Linked DNA regions of Homo sapiens: region 1 is linked to region 2. The links are contacts of gene promoters, found by promoter capture Hi-C in blood cells and fetal thymus (Javierre and others, 2016). All regions are on one chromosome and are shown on one strand. The core of a region is centred on a gene start or on the middle of the fragment in contact, and the rest is flanking DNA. Distances in the headings are between cores, read along the strand shown.

Region 1 (3,470 bases), core at 820-3,319, 340 kb before region 2:
AATAGTCACTTATTTAACATCTATGTTTGTTTCCTCATAGGATGATGTTAGTATCCACCTCGAAGGTTATTATCAGAATTATTGAAAAATGTTTTTAACTGGAAAATTTGAGGAAAAAAATGATGAAATGCATTCTGTATTTATTATACTAATTATAAAAACACATGTAAAACTGAAAACAGTAATAGGTAACATTTTGAGCATTTGTTACAGTGCTCTACAAGTTCAGAGAAACTTCCCTTGTAATGAACTATAGACATGATCACTGAAAGTATAGTCTTTATTGTCAGGATTAAATGAGATAGTGTTTACTCCAGTGCTTGGCATATATTTAATATTTAATTAACGTTAACTTTTTTGTTATAGTTATACATATGATTTTTAAATGGCCTTTATAGTAACTTTATCTCTAGTGTCATATTTTGGTTTGTCAATCTGTTACTAAAAGATTGAAAACTCTTTTTTAGTATATTATGTAACCATTTTCCTATTTTTCTCCTTTATTTTTTCTTTTTTTGAGACTGAGTCTTGCTCTGTTGCCCAGACTGGAGGGCAATGGCATGATCATAGCTCACTGCAGCCTCAAACTCCTAGGACTCAAGCAGTTCTCCCGCCTTGGCCTCCCAAGTAGCCAGGACTACAGATATGCACCACCCCACACAGTTAATTTATTATTTTTGTAGAGACAGGGTCTCACTGTGTTGCCCAGGCTGGTCCCAAACTCCTGGCCTCAAGTGATCCTCCTGTCTTGGCCTTCCAAAGTGCAAGGATTACAGGTGTGAGCCACTGTACCCAGCCCCATTTTTTTTTTTTTTTTCCCTGAGATGGAGTCTCACTCTGTTGCCCAGGCTGGAGTGCAGTGGCGTGATCTCAGCTCACTGCAACCTCCGCCTTTCAGGTTCAAGCAATTCTCCTGCCTCAGCCTCCTGAGTAGCTGGGACTACAGGCACCCGCCAACACACCCAACTAATTTTTTTTTTTTTTTTTTTTGAGATGGAGTCTCTTTCTGTCGCCAAGGCTGGAGTGCAGTGGTGCGATCTTGGCTCACTGCAAGCTCTGCCTCCCAGGTTCACCCCATTCTCCTGCCTCAGCCTCCCGAGTAGCTGGGACTACAGGCATGTGCCACCATGCCCGGCCAATTTTTTGTATTTTTAATAGAGATGGGGTTTCACCGTGCTAGCCAGGCTGGTCTCTATCTCCTGACCTCGTGATCCACCTGCCTCGGCCTCCCAAAGTGCTGGGATTACAGGCATGAGTCACCGCGCCCGGCCTAATTTTTTGTATTTTCAGTAGAGACGGGGTTTCACCATTATGGCCAGGCTGATCTCGAACTCCTGACCTCAAGTGATCCGCCCACCCCGGCCTTCCATAGTGGTGGGATTACAGGCATGAGCCACTGCGCCCAGCCCCAGCCCCATTTTTAATATATGTTGCTGTTCTCTATAGGACTTAATAGTTTGCCATCACTCAGTGAACATTTATTATCTCGTAGGTATTATTGGACATTCAGAGATACATAACACATGATCCCTATCTTAAAGTATTTAAAGTATAACTAGGAAGATATATTGACATGAAAAAAGTCAAATAACATTTTAAGAAAATGATATGTGAGATATTTAAAGCCCTGTATGACTGAGAACTACTTGAATTGTACAGTAAGTGCTATTAGTTTGTAAAAGAGAAATCCTTGTGTATGGGACTATCAGAGACTATTATGAAAGAGGTGGGAACTTCAATAAGACTTTTGGAGGATGGAATAAAAGTAAGGCCCAAAGGTCAAATTTAGAGTGCTTCCTTATTTGGTAAATAAACTTTTTTCAGAACACAGCTACTCCCATTCATTTACATATTGTCTGTGGCTGCTTTCAAGCCACAGCTGCTGAGTTAGTAGTTACCACGGAGACTGTGTAGCCTCAATAAGTCTAAAATGTTTACTATCTAGCTCTTTACAGAAAGCTTTGCCAATCCTTGCTGTAGACAATGGGGAACCAATACAGGCTTTTAACAGGTCAATGGTATGGTAAGGTCTCTGTTCTGAAAGATATCTAATTATTTTTATAATCAGACAATAACAGCCATTATACTAAAAAACAAAAGATACTTGCTGGTGCTATAGACTAGTAGATTAGAATGGATTGAAGGGAGAAAGTGAAGGCAAAAACTTCAGTTAAGCTTGAACTAGTGAGATGGTATTGAGAATAGCAGGAAATGGACCAAATGATAATCTTTTTTAACAGGTAAATCAATCCGATTTGATTGAGCAGGGAAGAGTTAAACATTTAAAGCCACAGAGATGATGTGGAGGTTTCTCACTTTGCCAGCGGGGTGGATAGAAAATACAAGAGGCTGGGAGTGGTGGCTTACACATGTAATCCCAACACCTTTGAGTGGCCAAGGCAGGAGAGTGGCTTGAGGCCAGGAGTTCGAGACCAGCCTGGACAACAAAGCAAGACCCCCCCCCCCATCTCTTAAAAAAAAAATTAACCAGGCATAGTGGCACATGCCTGTAGTCCTAGCTACTGAGGCAGGAGGGTCGCTTGAGGCCAGGAGTTTGAGGTTGCGGTGAACTATGATCACGCCTCTGCACTCTAGCTTAGGCAAGAGTGAGACCCTGTCTTTAAAAAAAGAAAAGAAAATACAAAAAAATGGAAAAGATGATGAATTTAGTTTTGGATACATTTAGCGTAATTCACCTATGGAGCATCTAAGTGGATGTTTTTAATTGGAAATAGGGGTCTGAAGTTCAACTGAAAGATTAGGGCTGGAGAGTTTGCATATGGTTAGTCACTGAAGCTTTGGGACTGGATAAGTTTTCCCAGGAAGAACATATGGATCCTGTGTAATGTAAATGTCACTTTAAGAAACATAGGAAGAGGAACTAGCAGAAGAAACATAGAAAGTGGCAAAAATGACAAAATAAAAGATTTTATTTTATTTTATTTATTAATTTTTTTGAGATGGGGTTTCTGTTGCCCAGGTTCAATGCAGTGGCACAATCGTGGCCTACTCCAGCCTTGACCTCAAGCAATCCTCCCACCTCAGCCTTCCAAGTAGCTGGGACGTGTACCACTACGCCTGGCAAATTTTTTTTTTTTTTTTGAGATGGAGTCTTGCGCTGTTGCCCAGGCTGGAGTGCAGTGGTGCGATCTTGGCTCATTGCAACCTCCGCCTCTCGAGTTCAAGCAATTCTCCTGCCTCAGCCTCCCGAGTAGCTGGGATTACAGGCGCCCACTACCACGCCCAGCTAATTTTTGTATTTTTAGTAGAGACGGGGTTTCACCATGTTAGCCAGGCTGGTCTTGAACTTCTGAACTCGGCCTCCCAAAGTGCTGGGATTACAGGTGTGAGCCACCACACCCGGCTTTTTTTTTTTTTTTTTTTTTTGAGATGGAGTCTTGCTCTGTTGTCCAAGCTGGAGTGCCGTGGCCAGATCTCAGCTCACTGCAACCTCCACCTCCCAGGTTCAA
Region 2 (3,508 bases), core at 57-2,556:
TGAAGATGTACAGGCACGTGTCTGTTATGCTCTGGGGGGAAGAGAGGTATCCTGGCACTGGCCCATCCACTTCAGCGGACACTTCAGCCAGCAAATCGCTAATTCCAGCAGGGTGGGTTCCTGGGCCTGCAGCCCACAGGTGGAGCCCCATGGCTCTCAGGGCGGGCAGGTCCGGCTCCAGGGACTCCAGAAACTCTAGAAGGGTGGGAAAGCACAACGCCGGGGCCCTGGCTCTACCTAGAAGAGCCTATGACCCATGTCCCCTCCCTATCCCAGCCCACACTGCTCTTGGATGAGGGTGAAGGGTATGGACATTCCATCTTGGGTCTGAGGCCTGGAACTCGACTCCTTGGGGATCCTTGGGGCACCAAAGATTCAGCCTCATCCCTTCTCAAACCCGGAGACTCCTATCTCCACCCACTTTCGAACCCCAAGGGATAGTCGGCTTCTTCCCAGGCCCAGGGATGAGACCAAGCCTTTCTGTGGTCTCCGACACGCCCCCTTCTGTGGCTGGCCCCGCCTTAGTCAGTTCGGAGCTCCAGCCTTACCTGGCGCCAGCACCAGCGCGCGCGCGCCGCAGCTGCGGAGGCAGTGCAGCAGGGGGCCCCGGCGCAGGGCGGTGGGCACAAAGGCAGTGCGCAGGCCGGCCTTGGCCAGCCCGAACCAGAGCCACAGAAACTCTGGGCCAGCGGGGAGGAGCAGCGCCACAGTTGCTCCAGGTGACAGAGGGGCGGCGGCTCCTCCACCTCTGGCGGCACCGTCCCCTCCGGCAAACTCCGCGCCGCTTCCGGCCGCTGCATCTCCGGCTCCCGGCGCTGCCCGCTCGCCTTCTCCAGCGCTCCCCTCGCCGCTGTCGCCGCCGTCGGGTCCCCAGTCCCAGCCTAGCGCACGTAGGAAGGCGCGTGCAGCCCTGTTACTCTCGCGCTCCGCCTCTGAGTAGCTAAAGCGCCGCGAGCCGTGAATGAGAAAGGTGTGCGCGGCGCGCTGCTGGGCCAGTTCCGCGAGGCGCCAGGCCAGGCTGCAGCCCCCCTCGGGACCTTCCGGGTCGGCGGCAGCCGCGGCCAGGGCGCGAGCTCGAAGAGCCCTTTTGCAGCACAGAGCTCGCACCGCAAAGGCCAAGTCCGCCGGAAGCCAGCGCAACTGCGGCCAGAGGTGTAGCTTCAGCAGCAGCAGCGGTAGCAACAGCAGCAGGGGCAGCAGCAGGAGGGCAGCCATGGAGCCCGCTTCCTCTATCGGCACCGTCTGGTTCCAGCCGCTCGCAAACATCCCTGATCCTCCCTTCCGAAAACCTAGGGCCGCTCGTTCTAGCTGAGACTTCTCCTTCCAGGGAGCGCGCGTGCGCTGGCACACGCCCATTCCCACCCAGGCCCCCACCACTCCACACGGGCGGAGAGCAGAAACCCGGGAGGAGTGCGGGTGTGGGGCGGCCCCGGACTCCCAGCCCTCCCCCCACAGCCTACGCTCCGCCCTAGGCGCGCTCCCTCCCGGACTGCTCGCGGCTCGCACCCTACCAGGTCCTGGGCGGTGCTCGCGCCTTCCCTGAATCCCAGGGTTATGTCTGTCTTCTAAGTTGTTTCTCGGCTTGGGCGGTTTAGGCATCTGGCTAAGCCCTAGAGTCCAGGCCTGAGAGCCAGGGCGTTTGGATCGCAGTCCATCTTCCCCTCAATATTTCTCGTTTTCCCGTTAAGGGAAGGTACCATTGCTCTCTCCCAAAAGAATGAACTTGGCCCCTGGCCCATTTGGTTCTGCAAGTCCCGGCCTGCCAGCCGCAACCCCAGGGGATGGGTGGGGGCTGAGAGTTAAATAGGGGAAAGGTGGAAACCCAGACTGCCAGATTTCTGAGGGGTCACGACAGAGGCCCCTCCCTTTGGGCAAGGGTACAATAATTGGGGCCAGCCAGCAAATGCTCTCCATCCTGGTTTTAATTGGGACAGAGGAAACTGGGGAAGGAGAGAGGAAGGAAAAAGAAGCCTCCAGTGGTTTAGACTTTCAAAGGAAGCAACAGCAGTGATGAGGGAGGGGAGAACCTGGATTCTGTAAAAAGACAAATTTTCGGGGTGAAGAGGAGCAGCTCTGTGCAGTTCGCCCAAACTTCACTCCTCAGTCCACCTCCATTCTCCCTGGACAGCGGGGGAACAACAGCATAGCCAAGGAACTCTCCTCTGCTGGTTCACATGGCCCAGCAAGTGGCCACACTGTGGAAGGAAGAGCATCTCTGTCCCTCCCTGGTATCCAGACTTTATCTCCAGGTACAGTTGTCCCTGGAGACCAAGCTGGAGCATCCCTCCCGTCAAGCAGCGAGTCCTCCGGCCATTCTTGGTAGGCACACAGACTTCAACTGGAGGATGACAGACCTTTTGGAAGCATCTTGTTTCTTGAGAAATGAGTAAGGACAGGCCTCATCCTACGGGGGATGGTTCTGCATAGACAGATCAGTGCCTGGCTCCCACCTCCAGTGGCAGCAGGAAGGATGGGTAGTGGCCAAAGCCAAGTCCCTTCTGCTCTAGACAAAAGTGGGGGCAGAACAGGAAGGGAAAGGGGGATGTTCTGCGGTTACAAGTAGGGGTGCCAATCAAATCAAGACCAAGCTATACATGCACGGGGCAAATGCCAGCAGACACTCCAGCACAAAAGACATTCTGGCTTGTTTTATTGTCATTTAAAAACAACTTTTAAGACACGATTATCTCTGCCAAAAAAAAAACAAAAAAAAACAAAAAAAAAAACAGACTCAAGGAAATGGGATCATTTGACAATTCTGTGAAACTTGCCTCTGGGACTCCCTGGGCTCTGGTGTAGATTGAGGTGCCAACCTCAGACCAACCTAAGCCTCCAGGGCACACCACGTGGGGCTGTGGCCACCCTTTCAGACTCCTTTCTGAATGCTTGTGGCATCTGCCCCATGATTAGGAATGGACACCCTGACCACGTCATAGATGCCCATTTCACACTGGCATGTGGATAGTGACTATAAAACGTCCCTTCAGAACAAACCAAGACCTGAAGGGGAAGCAGGAAGGGACACCCACACACTGAGTCTCTGCTCTCATCCTAGCTTATCTGGCCAGCTGCCCCTTTGTCATTTCCCTTCTCTGTTGAAATGGCTCTTTGGGAGACTGGGGGAGGAGATTGCGGAAGGGGCCAGGGGGCTGAGGACTTCCACTATGGTCTGATTTTACAGAGCCTCTGGCTTCAGTCAGATCCCAAATATCACTGGGAACAGCAGTGTGAGGGGCTGGAGGCCCCAGGAGGAGGGAAGGGGCTAGGGGCTGCATGGCAGCTTCTCAAACTCAGCCAGAGGAGAAAGCTCCTCCTTCCACCGGGGGAGCTTGGGGATGCAGCAAGGGTGTTTCCCCTGCAATCTCCTCAGCCTCTATTAACCTTTGAATCACCAAGAAGGAGAGGGCAGTCCAGCCGGGGGTGGGATGGGGAATGCAGGGCCTCAGTCACTGTCAGAGCCCACTGCAGAGGACCCTTTTCGTTTCCGCTTGGTAGGCTTCGGTTTCGT

Evidence for each region. Contacts are between HindIII fragments. The CHiCAGO score rates a contact against its expected background, and 5 or more counts as called.
Region 1: a contact is called between a fragment that was not itself captured here and the fragment with the promoter of SLC27A3 in region 2, in 1 of 17 cell types (activated CD4 T cells). The highest score is 5.6, in activated CD4 T cells.

The regions. Positions count from the first base shown.
Region 1 is chr1:154,113,775-154,117,244 of GRCh38, reverse strand. All of the region lies in intron 12 of NUP210L (nucleoporin 210 like), which reads left to right. Among named protein-coding and RNA genes, the nearest start is that of MIR5698, 11 kb to the right of the region's middle. The HindIII fragment of the contact is 216 bases long and covers 1,962-2,177 here.
Region 2 is chr1:153,773,205-153,776,712 of GRCh38, reverse strand. SLC27A3 (solute carrier family 27 member 3) reads right to left here and starts at 1,306. Exons shown (of 10, transcript NM_024330.4): 1 at 549-1,306; 2 at 1-195. The coding sequence starts at 1,215. INTS3 (integrator complex subunit 3) reads right to left here. Exons shown (of 30, transcript NM_023015.5): 30 at 1,905-3,508. The coding sequence ends at 3,443. RefSeq lists a silencer at 679-870 and an enhancer at 239-905. The HindIII fragment of the contact is 7,576 bases long and covers 1-3,508 here.